Regions from separate parts of the Homo sapiens genome. Here regions 2 and 3 are each linked to region 1. Evidence: promoter capture Hi-C in 16 types of primary human blood cells and fetal thymus (Javierre and others, 2016). All regions are on one chromosome and are shown on one strand. Each heading gives the region's core, a stretch centred on a gene start or on the middle of the fragment in contact. The rest is flanking DNA. Distances are from core to core; before and after follow the strand shown.

The links. Contacts are between HindIII fragments. The CHiCAGO score rates a contact against its expected background, and 5 or more counts as called.
Region 2: a fragment that was not itself captured here is called in contact with the fragment with the promoter of UPP1 in region 1 in 2 of 17 cell types (non-activated CD4 T cells and naive CD8 T cells); the score reaches 9.8 in non-activated CD4 T cells.
Region 3: a fragment that was not itself captured here is called in contact with the fragment with the promoter of UPP1 in region 1 in 1 of 17 cell types (non-activated CD4 T cells); the score reaches 5.6 in non-activated CD4 T cells.

The regions. Positions count from the first base shown.
Region 1 is chr7:48,087,637-48,091,410 of GRCh38, reverse strand. It overlaps UPP1 (uridine phosphorylase 1), which reads right to left and starts at 2,146. Exons shown (of 9, transcript NM_003364.4): 1 at 1,993-2,146; 2 at 1,047-1,223. RefSeq lists silencers at 1,582-1,771, 2,112-2,451 and enhancers at 1,552-2,081, 2,592-2,801, 2,614-3,143. The HindIII fragment of the contact is 3,480 bases long and covers 667-3,774 here.
Region 2 is chr7:55,568,048-55,571,821 of GRCh38, reverse strand. The region is part of intron 1 of VOPP1 (VOPP1 WW domain binding protein); the gene reads left to right. Among named protein-coding and RNA genes, the nearest start is that of VOPP1, 2.6 kb to the left of the region's middle. RefSeq lists silencers at 1-66, 2,652-2,946, 3,094-3,143 and an enhancer at 267-326. The HindIII fragment of the contact is 5,325 bases long and covers 1-3,774 here.
Region 3 is chr7:42,931,482-42,935,255 of GRCh38, reverse strand. It overlaps MRPL32 (mitochondrial ribosomal protein L32), which reads right to left and starts at 2,880. Exons shown (of 3, transcript NM_031903.3): 1 at 2,740-2,880; 2 at 120-301. The coding sequence starts at 2,869. PSMA2 (proteasome 20S subunit alpha 2) reads left to right here and starts at 3,082. Exons shown (of 8, transcript NM_002787.5): 1 at 3,082-3,138. The coding sequence starts at 3,098. RefSeq lists an enhancer at 2,702-2,931. The HindIII fragment of the contact is 641 bases long and covers 1,511-2,151 here.

The DNA of each region.
Region 1 (3,774 bases), core at 897-3,396:
TCCCAGGGAAATCCTAAACCTGGCTTAGGATTTGGCTCCCCAAGGAAGAGTCTTTTCGGTGATCACCTGGGGCTCTCTACCTATTACCAGCCAGATCCATCTTACTTAAAAAAAAAAAAAAACTGAAGATGTTTTTGATTTTTTTTTTTAGTTTTAACCCGTTAAACTCAAATCAGATTGGTAAGTTACTTGCATAAATAACTTAGCTTGTAAACATTTAAAATACTTTTTTGAATGAACATATTTCAAAAGCAAATGTGTGTGAGAGAGAGAGGAGAAGGAAGAAGAATGTTTGTTGTTTATCTTTAGGGAAGAGGAAAACCTAGAAGTTTCATTTTCTGTTATATATTTGATTTTTGGTTTTTGGGTTTTTTTGTTTGTTTGTTTTTACAATAAGTTTGCGTTAATTTTAAGATCAGTAAAGTCAACAAAATTCCACTTTGACAAAAAGCCCATGTAAAGAAACACTAATTTATCCTTCTTAAATGAAACATGAATGCCCACCAGTGCTGAAAGTATTGGAACCAAGAATATAATTTGTGCTCGATACACCTGTGCTGAATTAAAACGGTCTGCGGTGATGAGGTTTAATGCAGAGGACTAGAAGGTCAGGGTAGCCTCTGAAAAAAGAAATAATGTAAGAGCAGCTGAGAAATGGGGAAAGCTTGGGCCAAAATGCAGATGGGCAAACAAACTGAAAGGCGGGAGAGACAAAGGCCTGCCCTGGGAATGGCTCAGCAGCGCTTGTAGAAATCCAGAGTAAGACATTCTTTCTATTCAAGGAAGTCACAAAGTTTTTTAAAGACCCGCGGTTACAGCCAATGAATGGAACCAATGGTCTTTTTAACCAGAAGACCCCAGGAAGGCAGAAAATGAGCCAAAGAAAGGCCAGGCAGGGGACAGTGGGGAAAGGAAACAGGGATGGAGAAGCAGAGAGGGAAGTGCAGAGACAGGTCACCCAGGCGCCTGGAAACTGCCTCTATGGCCTTCACGGGAAACGGCCTCTTTCTACTCCGGATCCCAGACTGTGTTTCTTTGAAACTGACCGTCAGAGGAGAGCGGCTGGAGGCGGACAGACGTCTGCAGTGGGAGGCGCTCCAGGCGTTCCAGGCAGTGTCCTGCCGGCGAGTCACCCGCGACCGCGAGTCACCTCACCAAGCCCTGAATTGGGACAGGAGACGAGACGTGTCGACGAGCTGCGGAGTTCCTCGCTTCTCTGGGCCCTGCCAGGTCCAAGAACAGGTTGCCATATAAAAGAATCGTGAAGGGACCCCCTTCCCCATGCAAATTATGTCATATAACGCATATGCCTGTGAAGTTTCTCTGCGGAGCTGCCAGATAACTCGATGACAATATTTTATGCGGTAACATTTTGTTAAATGTTGACTCGATGGCCACTTGACGCCATCTGAACTCTGAAAGCTCGCGTAACAATCATCCTCCAAATGAAATTTTACCCCCTTCTCCCTTTAAAAGGCGGTGGGGACAAAACATCACTTCGTCACTTAAGTCACCATCTCCTTCCTCTTATCTGGGGCTCCCAGCATAGTTCTAGGGGTTCCCGCACTCCCCGCCCGGGTTTGGGCTGCGAGAAGCGCCCGCCTGCGCCCTGCGGGACCTGACCCTGCCGGCTCTGGCTTCACCCTCGCTGCGCCTCGGCCCGGTGGGCTCCCCGCCCAGAGCCCCGCGCGCTCCGTCGCCGGGACGTGGGAGAGGTAGGCACGGGGTGGACCCGAGGAAGCACATCCCGCCCGCGCGCTTCCCCCACGCCCACCTCGCTCCGCACACACCAGCCCCAGAACCTCCCGGCCGCGCGCCCGCCTCCCCGCGCAGCCGCGCCGGGCCGCTCTCTGCTCCTCTGCAGCTCACAGCCAAGGTGCACCAGAGCCTCCGTCACCGCCCCTACAGGTAAATGGGCACGTGGCCAAGGCAGGGGACGGGCTAGACCCCTGGGAAGAGAGAACGGCGGGAGCCGGGCCGCGGGCGACTCACCACTCGGCCTGCGCAGAGAGCCGCTACACCCGCGGCGCCATCCTCGCACTGCGACACCGGCGACAAACGCAATGCTCCAGGGCCGGACGAAGGGACGGCTCTCGGGAGGCTCGCAGACGGCGGGGCGCGGGTCTGTGCGCCGGAGCACTCGAATGAGGGAACCACCTGCGAGGTGAATCTCATATGGAGTCTGCGAGCGGCCCCGCCCTGCCCGGGGGTTACCGCTAGGCTCGGGCCCCGCCTGCCCTGGGCCGGCGAACTCAGCTGACCGCATCCTGGGCCATCCCGCAGACAAGCCCCGCCCGCCCCCACCTTCCTCTGCCCCTCTGGCCCCGCCTCCCCCGCCTTCCTCCTCTCCACCCTCCCGCGAAGGTCCCGGGAGGCTCAGCCCGCAATTGCTTCTCGCCTCTGCAGAGCAGCTGGGCAATTGTAAAGAACCAGCAGCCAGTTCTGTTACTCATTAAACAGCCCCTACTACAGAGGAAATCTTCTTACCCACGTGGTCCTAACCTGGGGCGGAGGAAACCGGGCTAGAAGCGGCTCTAGGACTAACCCAAGGTCACGCCGCCAGGCAGGATCCCCGGTCTGTCTGTCTGGCGGTGGCCCCGCGGCTGGGGCCAGCGGAGAGAAATGACAGCGTGGAACCAGCCCTGGCCCGGTGGTCGGGAATGTGGAGCTGGCACTGTCACTGTGTGTACCCTGGATCTCTCTGGACGGCCTCGGCTTCCCCCCTGGGGAGTTTCTCTGGGACCTTCCTGATCCTGGGAGTTCCCGCTTGCTGGGGCAAAGCCAGGAGCTCGCCCGAGGAGGGGAAGTGACTCATTCACTTCGAGTCGCAGCTAAGTGGCCGAACTGCCTCAAACCGGCGCTGCACTCTGACCCCCAGGGGCCGGACCTGCCTGCCCCCGGCCGGTGCCCACTCTCCGTCTCAGGCGTCTTTCCTGGTCCTCTCCCTGCTTCCCGAACGCGCACTCTGGTGAGAGCACAGAGCCTGGGAAAGAAGACGACCTAGAGGCCCGGGCAGCCCAGCACCTCTGTTACTTGCTTCCTAAAGGGAACTCCAGTTCCTGAGAAAACATGGGGTTGGGCCGGGAGTGGTGGCTCACGCCTGTAATCCCAGCACTTTGGAAGGCCGAGGCGGATGGATCACCTGAGGTCAGGAGTTCGAGACCAGCCTGCCCAACATGGTGAAACCCCGTCACTACTAAAAATACAAAAAATTAGCTGGACGTGGTGTCGCGTGCCTGTAATCCCAGGTACTAGGCAGGCCGAGGCAGGAGAATTGCTTGAACCCAGCGAAGGATGCAGTGAGCCGAGATCGCGCCATTGCACTCCATACTGGGTGACAAGAGTGAAACACACAAACAAATCAAGGAAGGAATTAAGGGTTTTATTGAAAATGAAAGTACGGCCAGGCGCAGTGGCTCACACCTGTAATCCCAGCACTTTGGGAGGCCGAGGCGGGTGGATTACAAAGTCAGGAGTTCAAGACCAGCCTAACCAAGATGGTGAAACCCCGTCTCTACTAAAAGTAAAAAAAAAAAAAAAACAAAAAAAAAAACCTAGCCGGTCACAGTGGCAGGTGCCTGTAATTCCAGCTACTTGGGAGGCTGAGGCAGGAGAACCACTTGAACCTGGGTGGCAGAGGTTGCAGTGAGCTGAGATCATGCCACTGCATTCCAGCCTTGGTGACACAGTGAGACGCCATCTCAAAAAAAAAAGGTAAATGAAAGTACACTCCACAGTGTGGGAGCGGGCCTGAGCGTAGGGGCTCAAAGGCCC
Region 2 (3,774 bases), core at 469-2,968, 7.5 Mb before region 1:
GAGGGGAGCGGGCGGAGGGGACTGTGGGGAAGTGTCGCGGGAGTGCCGGGAGTTGTGGAGGTGAGCAGCGGGAGGAGGCGTTCCCGCGTGTGAAAATGAAGTGCAGCCTTTAGGTGCGGGGAGGAAATTCTGCGGAGAGCCTGGCTGGGTGGGGGTGCGGAGCCGAAGCCGGCGGGGAACTTGTTGAGCGGCTTCCGGGTGCGAGCGCCCGTGACCGCATCCCTGGCGGGGACCGCGGCTGCTCCTGGCTGTGAAATTGCATCCTCGGATGGGGCCACATACTTCTCACTAAAGCAGGTTCCTTAAAATGCGAACTAGAGGAATTCTGGGGTGTCCAGTCTGAATCAGGGCTTGTTCAACTTTCTCCTTAGTTTCATTATTCTGAAGGAAATTTGCGTTAAATTAATGAAGTCAAAAGAAATAGGTAATGAATCCCATGCCTCTGTTTTAGGAAGTTGTGAAACTATCTTCCTTAATAGTTAGTGATTGGTGCTGGAAATTACTAGTTTGTCTTCGCCCTTTATTAAAAAGTAATTATTACAAAATGTTGGAGGAAAAGTGTTTCCTGAAAGGAAGGCTGGTGGACAAATTTCTCCTTGCTCCAGGCTCTGCCATAGCCGAGACTTCCTGTTTCTGTTCGGAAATATCCCCGTAGCTTGGTATTTAATGTTTTTGTGGAGTGCCTCTGCTTGCATTCTTTCCATTTATTCAGAATTTTAGAACCTTAGGAATCACATTCTCTGAGTGACTCACCATAGAGAACAAAGAAGTGAATCAGAGACCAGTAATCGCATGAAAACAGATGTGCTTGTACCTTAATGTGTGTACCTATACTTGCAATCTTTATTTTTTATTTTTATTTATTTATTTCTTTAGTTTTGAGATGGAGTCTCGTTCTGTGGCCCAGGCTTGAGTGCTGTGGCGCGATCTTGGCTCACTGCAATCTCCGCCTCCTGGGTTCAAGCTATTCTCCTGCTTCAGCCTCCCCAGTAGCGGGGACTACAGGCGCCCACCACTATGCCCGGCTAATTTTTGCATTTTTAGTAGAGTCGGGGTTTCGTCATGTTGGTCAGGCTGGTCTCGAACTCCTGACCTCAGGTGATCCGCCCGCCTCGGCCTCCCAAAGTGCTAGGATTACAAGGTGAGCCACCGCGCCCGGCCCTGCAATCTTTTTTAATCGGCACTTGATGAAATTATTTAGCGTTTCTTTCATTCTAGTTTGTGCCACCCATGTCTCCCAAGCCTTCTGTCTGAGTGGTTCTGTGCCCTATATGTAGCCTAGACGGCCTCAGTGACTCCATTCTTTCCAAAATAGCTGTTTCGTTGCATAGGAATGTATCCTCTTAATAGGAGTTCAGATCATGTCTGCAAAGTTGAAACGACCTTAAAGGCAGAAGTGTGATGTAAAACTGAAACCTAAATGCCTAAGATGATACTTTCACAGTCAAATATTAGATGATTGTTTCAGAGGGGACAGTGTGATGTCACCCACTTTGACATGATGATTATCCTAAGTACCACCACTTTGTGCTGGAGAGGCGTCTCTCTGAGGAGTTAAGGAGATTTCTTCATCATTTATCACATGAAATTTTATGTATGAGATTTATATTTGAGATTTTTTCATCTCTGGTGGGGTGCTCTGATGAATACCTGTGATGCTTCTGAAGTCCTGAATCACATACATGGATGTGCAGTCGTAGGTGTGGAGCATGTGCCATGGCAAATGGCTCTCTTCAGGTTGAGTGCATAAAAGCAACCCAGGGAGCTATTTGGTGGCTTCTGGCTTCTGACTGCCGGCTGCAACCTGGGAAATTTGTCTTTGTTCCTTTGTTCTGCCTGAGCTGGTTTCAGTGTATAAATTTGCCACGTGGTTGATCATAAACCACCTGAAATTAAGGGGTGGCCTTGTGGCAGTGGTGACTCTGTTCCCACCCCCAGCACCCTGGCCCTATCTAGCACCATCCAGAATCTCACATGCGCAGGGGTTTCTGTGTTAGTGAGAGGTCCTTGAGTAGGAAGGGCAATCCAAAGACTGTTTTGAGAAGTGCTTTCCTCCCCTGCCTCACCATCCCTTTGTAGAAATTTACTTACCTGTTAGACATAGAACTGCATATTTATGTTTGCTTACTAAACATTCATAGAGTGCTCCAGGGTAACTGCCAGGCACTGTTCTATAAATGTTACACGTTATCTCATTAATCCTGCTAGCAATTACTTTTATCTTCATTTTTGTTTCAAATGGGAAGTGAACACTTAACACTGCTGTTAAGTGTGAGGGCTTAAGATGCTAACCCAGGCAGTCTGGTTCCAGTGTGTACCCCACCTCGATGCTCTGCTTCCTCTGCCGTCTGCGCACACAGGAACATGTTAGGAATTTGCATGCTCTACATCGCGAGGGCAGTGGTGGCCCTGGAAAGTGTATTCCCCTTAGAAACTCAGTCACCCTTCCTTAGAAAGACCATGTGATTTAGCCTACAAACGGTGGCACTTTGAAGAGTGAAATAGGATGTTGTTAAGAGCTGTGCCTGGACAGTGGGCATCACCAGGACTCTCCTGAGAAACCCTGGTTGTGTTCCCCTCCTGAAGCCCAGGTAGGGCTTCAGGGAGGAACCGGCAGCAGCTGACAGCACCATCCCTCTCCTAGGGAGGCTTCTTGGAAGCTCATTACTGGACTGACCTTTCTTTTCTATTAACTCAGAGTTTCCTGTGAATTACATGCACAGCCAGTGAGGGCCCTGATTTTATCTCCCTCTCCCCTGTTGCTCTGTGCCAGCTGGTTATGATCCAGGGACCCAGGCCACGAATGTGGCAGATTCTAAGGGTGGCTAAGAGTAGGGAACCTCAGAGGCCTTTTTGGTTCATAAAATGCTAAGGTTCTATGCCTTTGTTCCGCCAGCTGGCTGAAGTGAGGTCCTGCAAACAATCCTTACAGGAAGAGTGAAAGTACTAAGCTGTCTCCTAGTAGCCCTGCTGAAGTTATTCTCAGTGGCCTTCACACAGTAACTCCTTAGAAACTAAAAGGAAAAAAAAAGGTTTTAAAACTGACTACACTTCAGTTGAATCCCGAGAGTAATGAGGCCCTAAGCATATGCACCTCCCTGGGGCTTTTTGTTGTGTGCATTGTTTTCTAGATATTGTCACTGCATTCTCTTTCTAGAGGTTTGGTTGGTTACACTTTTGAAATCTACTTAGTATTTGTTTGAAGGGCTCTGTTCTTACTGAAGTGAGCCCAGAAATGTATAGTATGCTATTTAGTGTAAAACTCACCAATACCAGTGCCTCTGCTTCCAAGGAGATAGACTTATTTTAGTTAAGGGACTACTCATTATCTTTCTGATCTTTCCCAGGAACCAAGAGCTGGAAACGCTTAAGCCACGTTGCTTTGTGCTTCAATGCTGTTGGGCAAAAGAACAGATCTTCTTGGACTAGAAAAAGGAACAGTTGTCAGGCTGGGTGCGGTGGCTCATGCCTGTAATCCCGGCACTTTGGGCGAGGCGGGTGGATCACGAGCTCAGGAGATCGAGACCATCCTGGCTAACACGGTGAAAGCCCATCTCTACTAAAAATACAAAAAATTAGCTGGGCGTGGTGGCGGGCGCCTGTAGTCCCAGCTACTCGGGAGGCTGAGCCTGGAGAATGGCGTGAACCCGGGAGGCGGAGCTTGCAGTGAGCGGAGATTGTGCCACTGCACTCCAGCCTGAGCAACAGAGTGAGACTGTCTCAAAAAAAAAAAAAAAAAAGGAATAGTTGTCTCTTAGAGAGGGTTGCAAAGTG
Region 3 (3,774 bases), core at 582-3,081, 5.2 Mb after region 1:
AGAGGAAAGTAGACACATATAATCTGATAATAATTTATTCCTAGGCTATAGGAATCTACCATGAGCTTATTCAATGGAGGACTTGAGGAAAAGCACACCCACAAAAATCAATGCATTACCTTAACTTTAATAAGCTTCTGCGGATTTCTTCTCCTACACCGGTTAACTTCAATGGTGCGTCTATTTTTGGGAGCTGCCATCCAAAAGATACTGTCCAAAAGGCTGGAATTCTCTTTACTTCCACTGGTATCATTTGCTGGCTCTGTAAACATGGCTGGGCCCTGTACTGCTAATGCTGGTCCTAGGAAATAAAACATAAGAGATACAGAATTAGTTTCTAGCTTCTAAATTACTATTTACAGATATCATTTTCCTTAACAATCAATGGTCAAACATACACACACACAAAAACTATATATAAAATTTAGAATGTGAAACTCAATAATGAGAAACCTTAGCTATTAAAATACACTAAAGCTTATACAATTTTAAGGAACACAGAATTTTTTCTTAGCGGATCCTGCTGAAAAGAAGATCAGTGAAATTCCATCAAGTTTCTTATCTCATAAAATACAGGACTCTGATAGGCACCTAACTTGAACAAAACAAGCAAAGAATCACTCAACTGTCCACATTCTATTAATACTTGGCGGGTAGTAAGTACCTGATTAATTTACAAGTAAATCTAGACAGATTTCCTGAATACACTTCTGACCGGCACTGATGTAACTGCCAATTGCCTTTTCTTATATTCAAACTGAGTCAGGTCCTTTATGATACAACCTCTTAAGTCACTTAGTTCCTCATAACATTTAATCTTGATTCCTGTCTGCTCTCTAAAGAAAAGAGCCAGCTCACCATTTCTCTGTATGGCCTTATTTATGTGACTATCAAAGTTTCTCTTTTTCTGAATTGCTTATAAAATCAACATTCCTTTACCCTTTCCTTGCTATTTCTTAGACGTGCCATACTTTTTTTTTTTTTTTTTGAGACTGAGTCTCACTCTGTCACTCAGGCTAGAGTGCAGTGGCGTGACCTCGGCTCACTGCAACCTCCGCCTCCCTGGTTCAAGTGATTCTCCTGCCTCAGCCTCCCAAGTAGCTGGGATTACAGGTGTGCACCACCACGCCTGGTTAATTTTGTATTTTTAGTAGAGACAGGGTTTCACAATGTTGGCCAGGCTGGTCTTGAACTCCTGACCTTAGGTGATGGACCCACCTTGGCCTCCCAAAGTGCTGAGATTACAGGTGTGAGCCACCGCGCCCAGCCCACATACTTCTTTTGATCTTAAGAACTCTTAAAAATACACAAAGTTCTCTAACACTTAACAACTGGCATTTATTTTCAGTATGTCCACAAGTATTGCCAAGCATGCCCCGGTGATTAACAACACAGGCTCAGGACTGTCTGTGAACTTGGGACCATTGTGAGCCTACTGTTTCAGTTGGAAAGTGTATACACCTAATGGGACTGTTGTCAAGATTATCCCAGGAAGTACATGTAGAAAGCTTGGCACATTGCTTGGCATATAGTGGCATATATTTTCTTGGTATATTTCTGGATATTATCACTTTCAGGCTGCTTAGAAATTGAGTAGAATGTAAATGCCAAAGCCATGACAGTTTCAACATCCAAGATACTTCCAATTAAAATTAATTCCAAGTGAAACATGGGAAACAGAATTCAGCTCCTCAGAGCTCAAACACCACAGAAAACATGTACTGCGCGGGAGGGAGGGAGGAAGGGAGGAAAGAAGGGAGGGAAGGGAAGGGAAGAGGAGAGGGGGGAGAGGGGAAGCGGGAGGGGAGGTGAGGGCAGGGCTGGAAAGGAAAGACAGATCCAGAGAGTGGTGAGCCTTGATGCCAAGTGAGACCTGCAGAACTGTCCTCTCAGGACAACTCTGTACAAATCCCTGAACTCCACAGACTTGACCAAACTCTAGCATAGTTTCTAGCAGCATAAGGCTGTATCCTAGGATGACCTCGGCCCCCCCTTTAAAGTGCCTGCCTGAGAAAGCTCAACGCTGCCTGGAAAATTTCCTATTTATTTTGGCCAACATACCCCGATAGTAGGTCCCGAACTCCCTTAGAGCATTTCCTGGAAAGGGCATATAATTGTAAATACGTATCCCTTGCAACTAACTCGGAAGCTTTTCTTTCAAGGCCCTGAGAGCCATTCCTTCGAAATCTAATCATTAGGAAGGATAGGGCCTTTGTCTCCCAGTCTCTGCGGGAGGATAGAATTCTCCCTAAGACAACTGCGAGCTAGCAGACACAGCCGGCTAATCACATTTGCACTGACTTCACTATACTACACTTCTCTGACTCTACAGAGCCCCTACACTCCCGCCTCGCTCATTCTCCCTTTAAAACGCCCAAAGTCACCTCTGCACAAACCGGGATGGAGCTCAGCTCTTTACCTGCAGTAGTTACTGAATAAAATCTGTTTTCAGCGCTTTACTTACTGGCTGGCTATGATTTATCTTTGACACAAGCTTGGGTTACATTCTGTGTACGAATGGAACAAGCAGAGGAATTTTTTTTTTTTTTTTTTTGCGGTGGAGGGAGCGCAAAAACAGTCGTTCTGTTCTCGCTAATATGGGAATGTCACGAACTACGTCCCCGACATGAGGCCGCGGATCAGAACCGGGGCTGAGGGCGAACTGTGTAAGCTGCGTCTGCTACGCTGCCCGAGGTCCCGTCATCAGCCCCCTCTCCCACGGAGCCCTTCTTTACCTACCCCACGGAGGACTGGGAAAGCCCGGCCGGCTCTGCGGAAGCTTCCGTAGCAGTCGCTCCCAGTAGTTTCGAAGCACTCCCCGGGCCGCAGACCACGGCGAAACCACCAAGACCAGCATGGCCAGCGCCATTTTCCCTGCTGGAAGACCGCCCCGGTCCCGCCCCTGCTTTCAGCATGCGCACAGGCACAGAATCGGGCAAGCCTCGCTTCTTAGAACTACAACACCCCGCATGCTCTTGGAGCAGCTCTGACTCTCCTCCAATCATAGAGAGTAAAGGAAAGGTGAGGGGCGGGGAAATGAAAGGAAATCGGCCACAGTGCGCATGTGTGCGGCTGTGCTTTGGCTCTTCGGGTAAAGATGGCGGAGCGCGGGTACAGCTTTTCGCTGACTACATTCAGGTATGGAAGGGGCCCTCGAGGTCTTCAGCGTAGTCGAGGTTGCTGGTACTCTGTCGATTTAGTTTTTCCCATCCTGACGTCGGCATTGGTGCTTCTGGAGGGTCCAGTAGGGAATGGAGTTGGAAATGCGGCTTTGCAAAGTCATTTGCCAGGCCGACCCGGGATTCCTGGAGCTTCCTTGGTCGGAGGCTGCTGGAGGGTCGGGGGGATGCGGTTTTGCGGGGTTAACATGGGGCTGCGGGACGGTGAGGCACATAGCCAAGGATTCGCTTTCACTTTGGAGACCAGAAAAGAAGGCAGTTTTAGCTTAACCATCTCTGGGTGGCCCGTTCCGAACTCAGGATTTTTTTCCTGGCTCAAGTAGACCTGATGCGGTGGTTTCTGAAACTTGGAATCTTGGTCAAATATGTGGGGTTCCCTTTTCTTGGAAAACTCTCAGCTTTACAGTTAAGTCGGAGTCTTGGTCTCCATTTGGCACTAGTGTCTTTCAAAACCTCCCGCTTTCGGTTTCTTCGATGCACGAATTAGAAACATAAGGACTAAAAACCGAAAGCCCCTATCACTTTTTTGTGAACCCCTAACAACGAGGCAAGTTTGAGTTTTGGTCTTTTTTTGGTGGACTGGGGGGAACGTCGG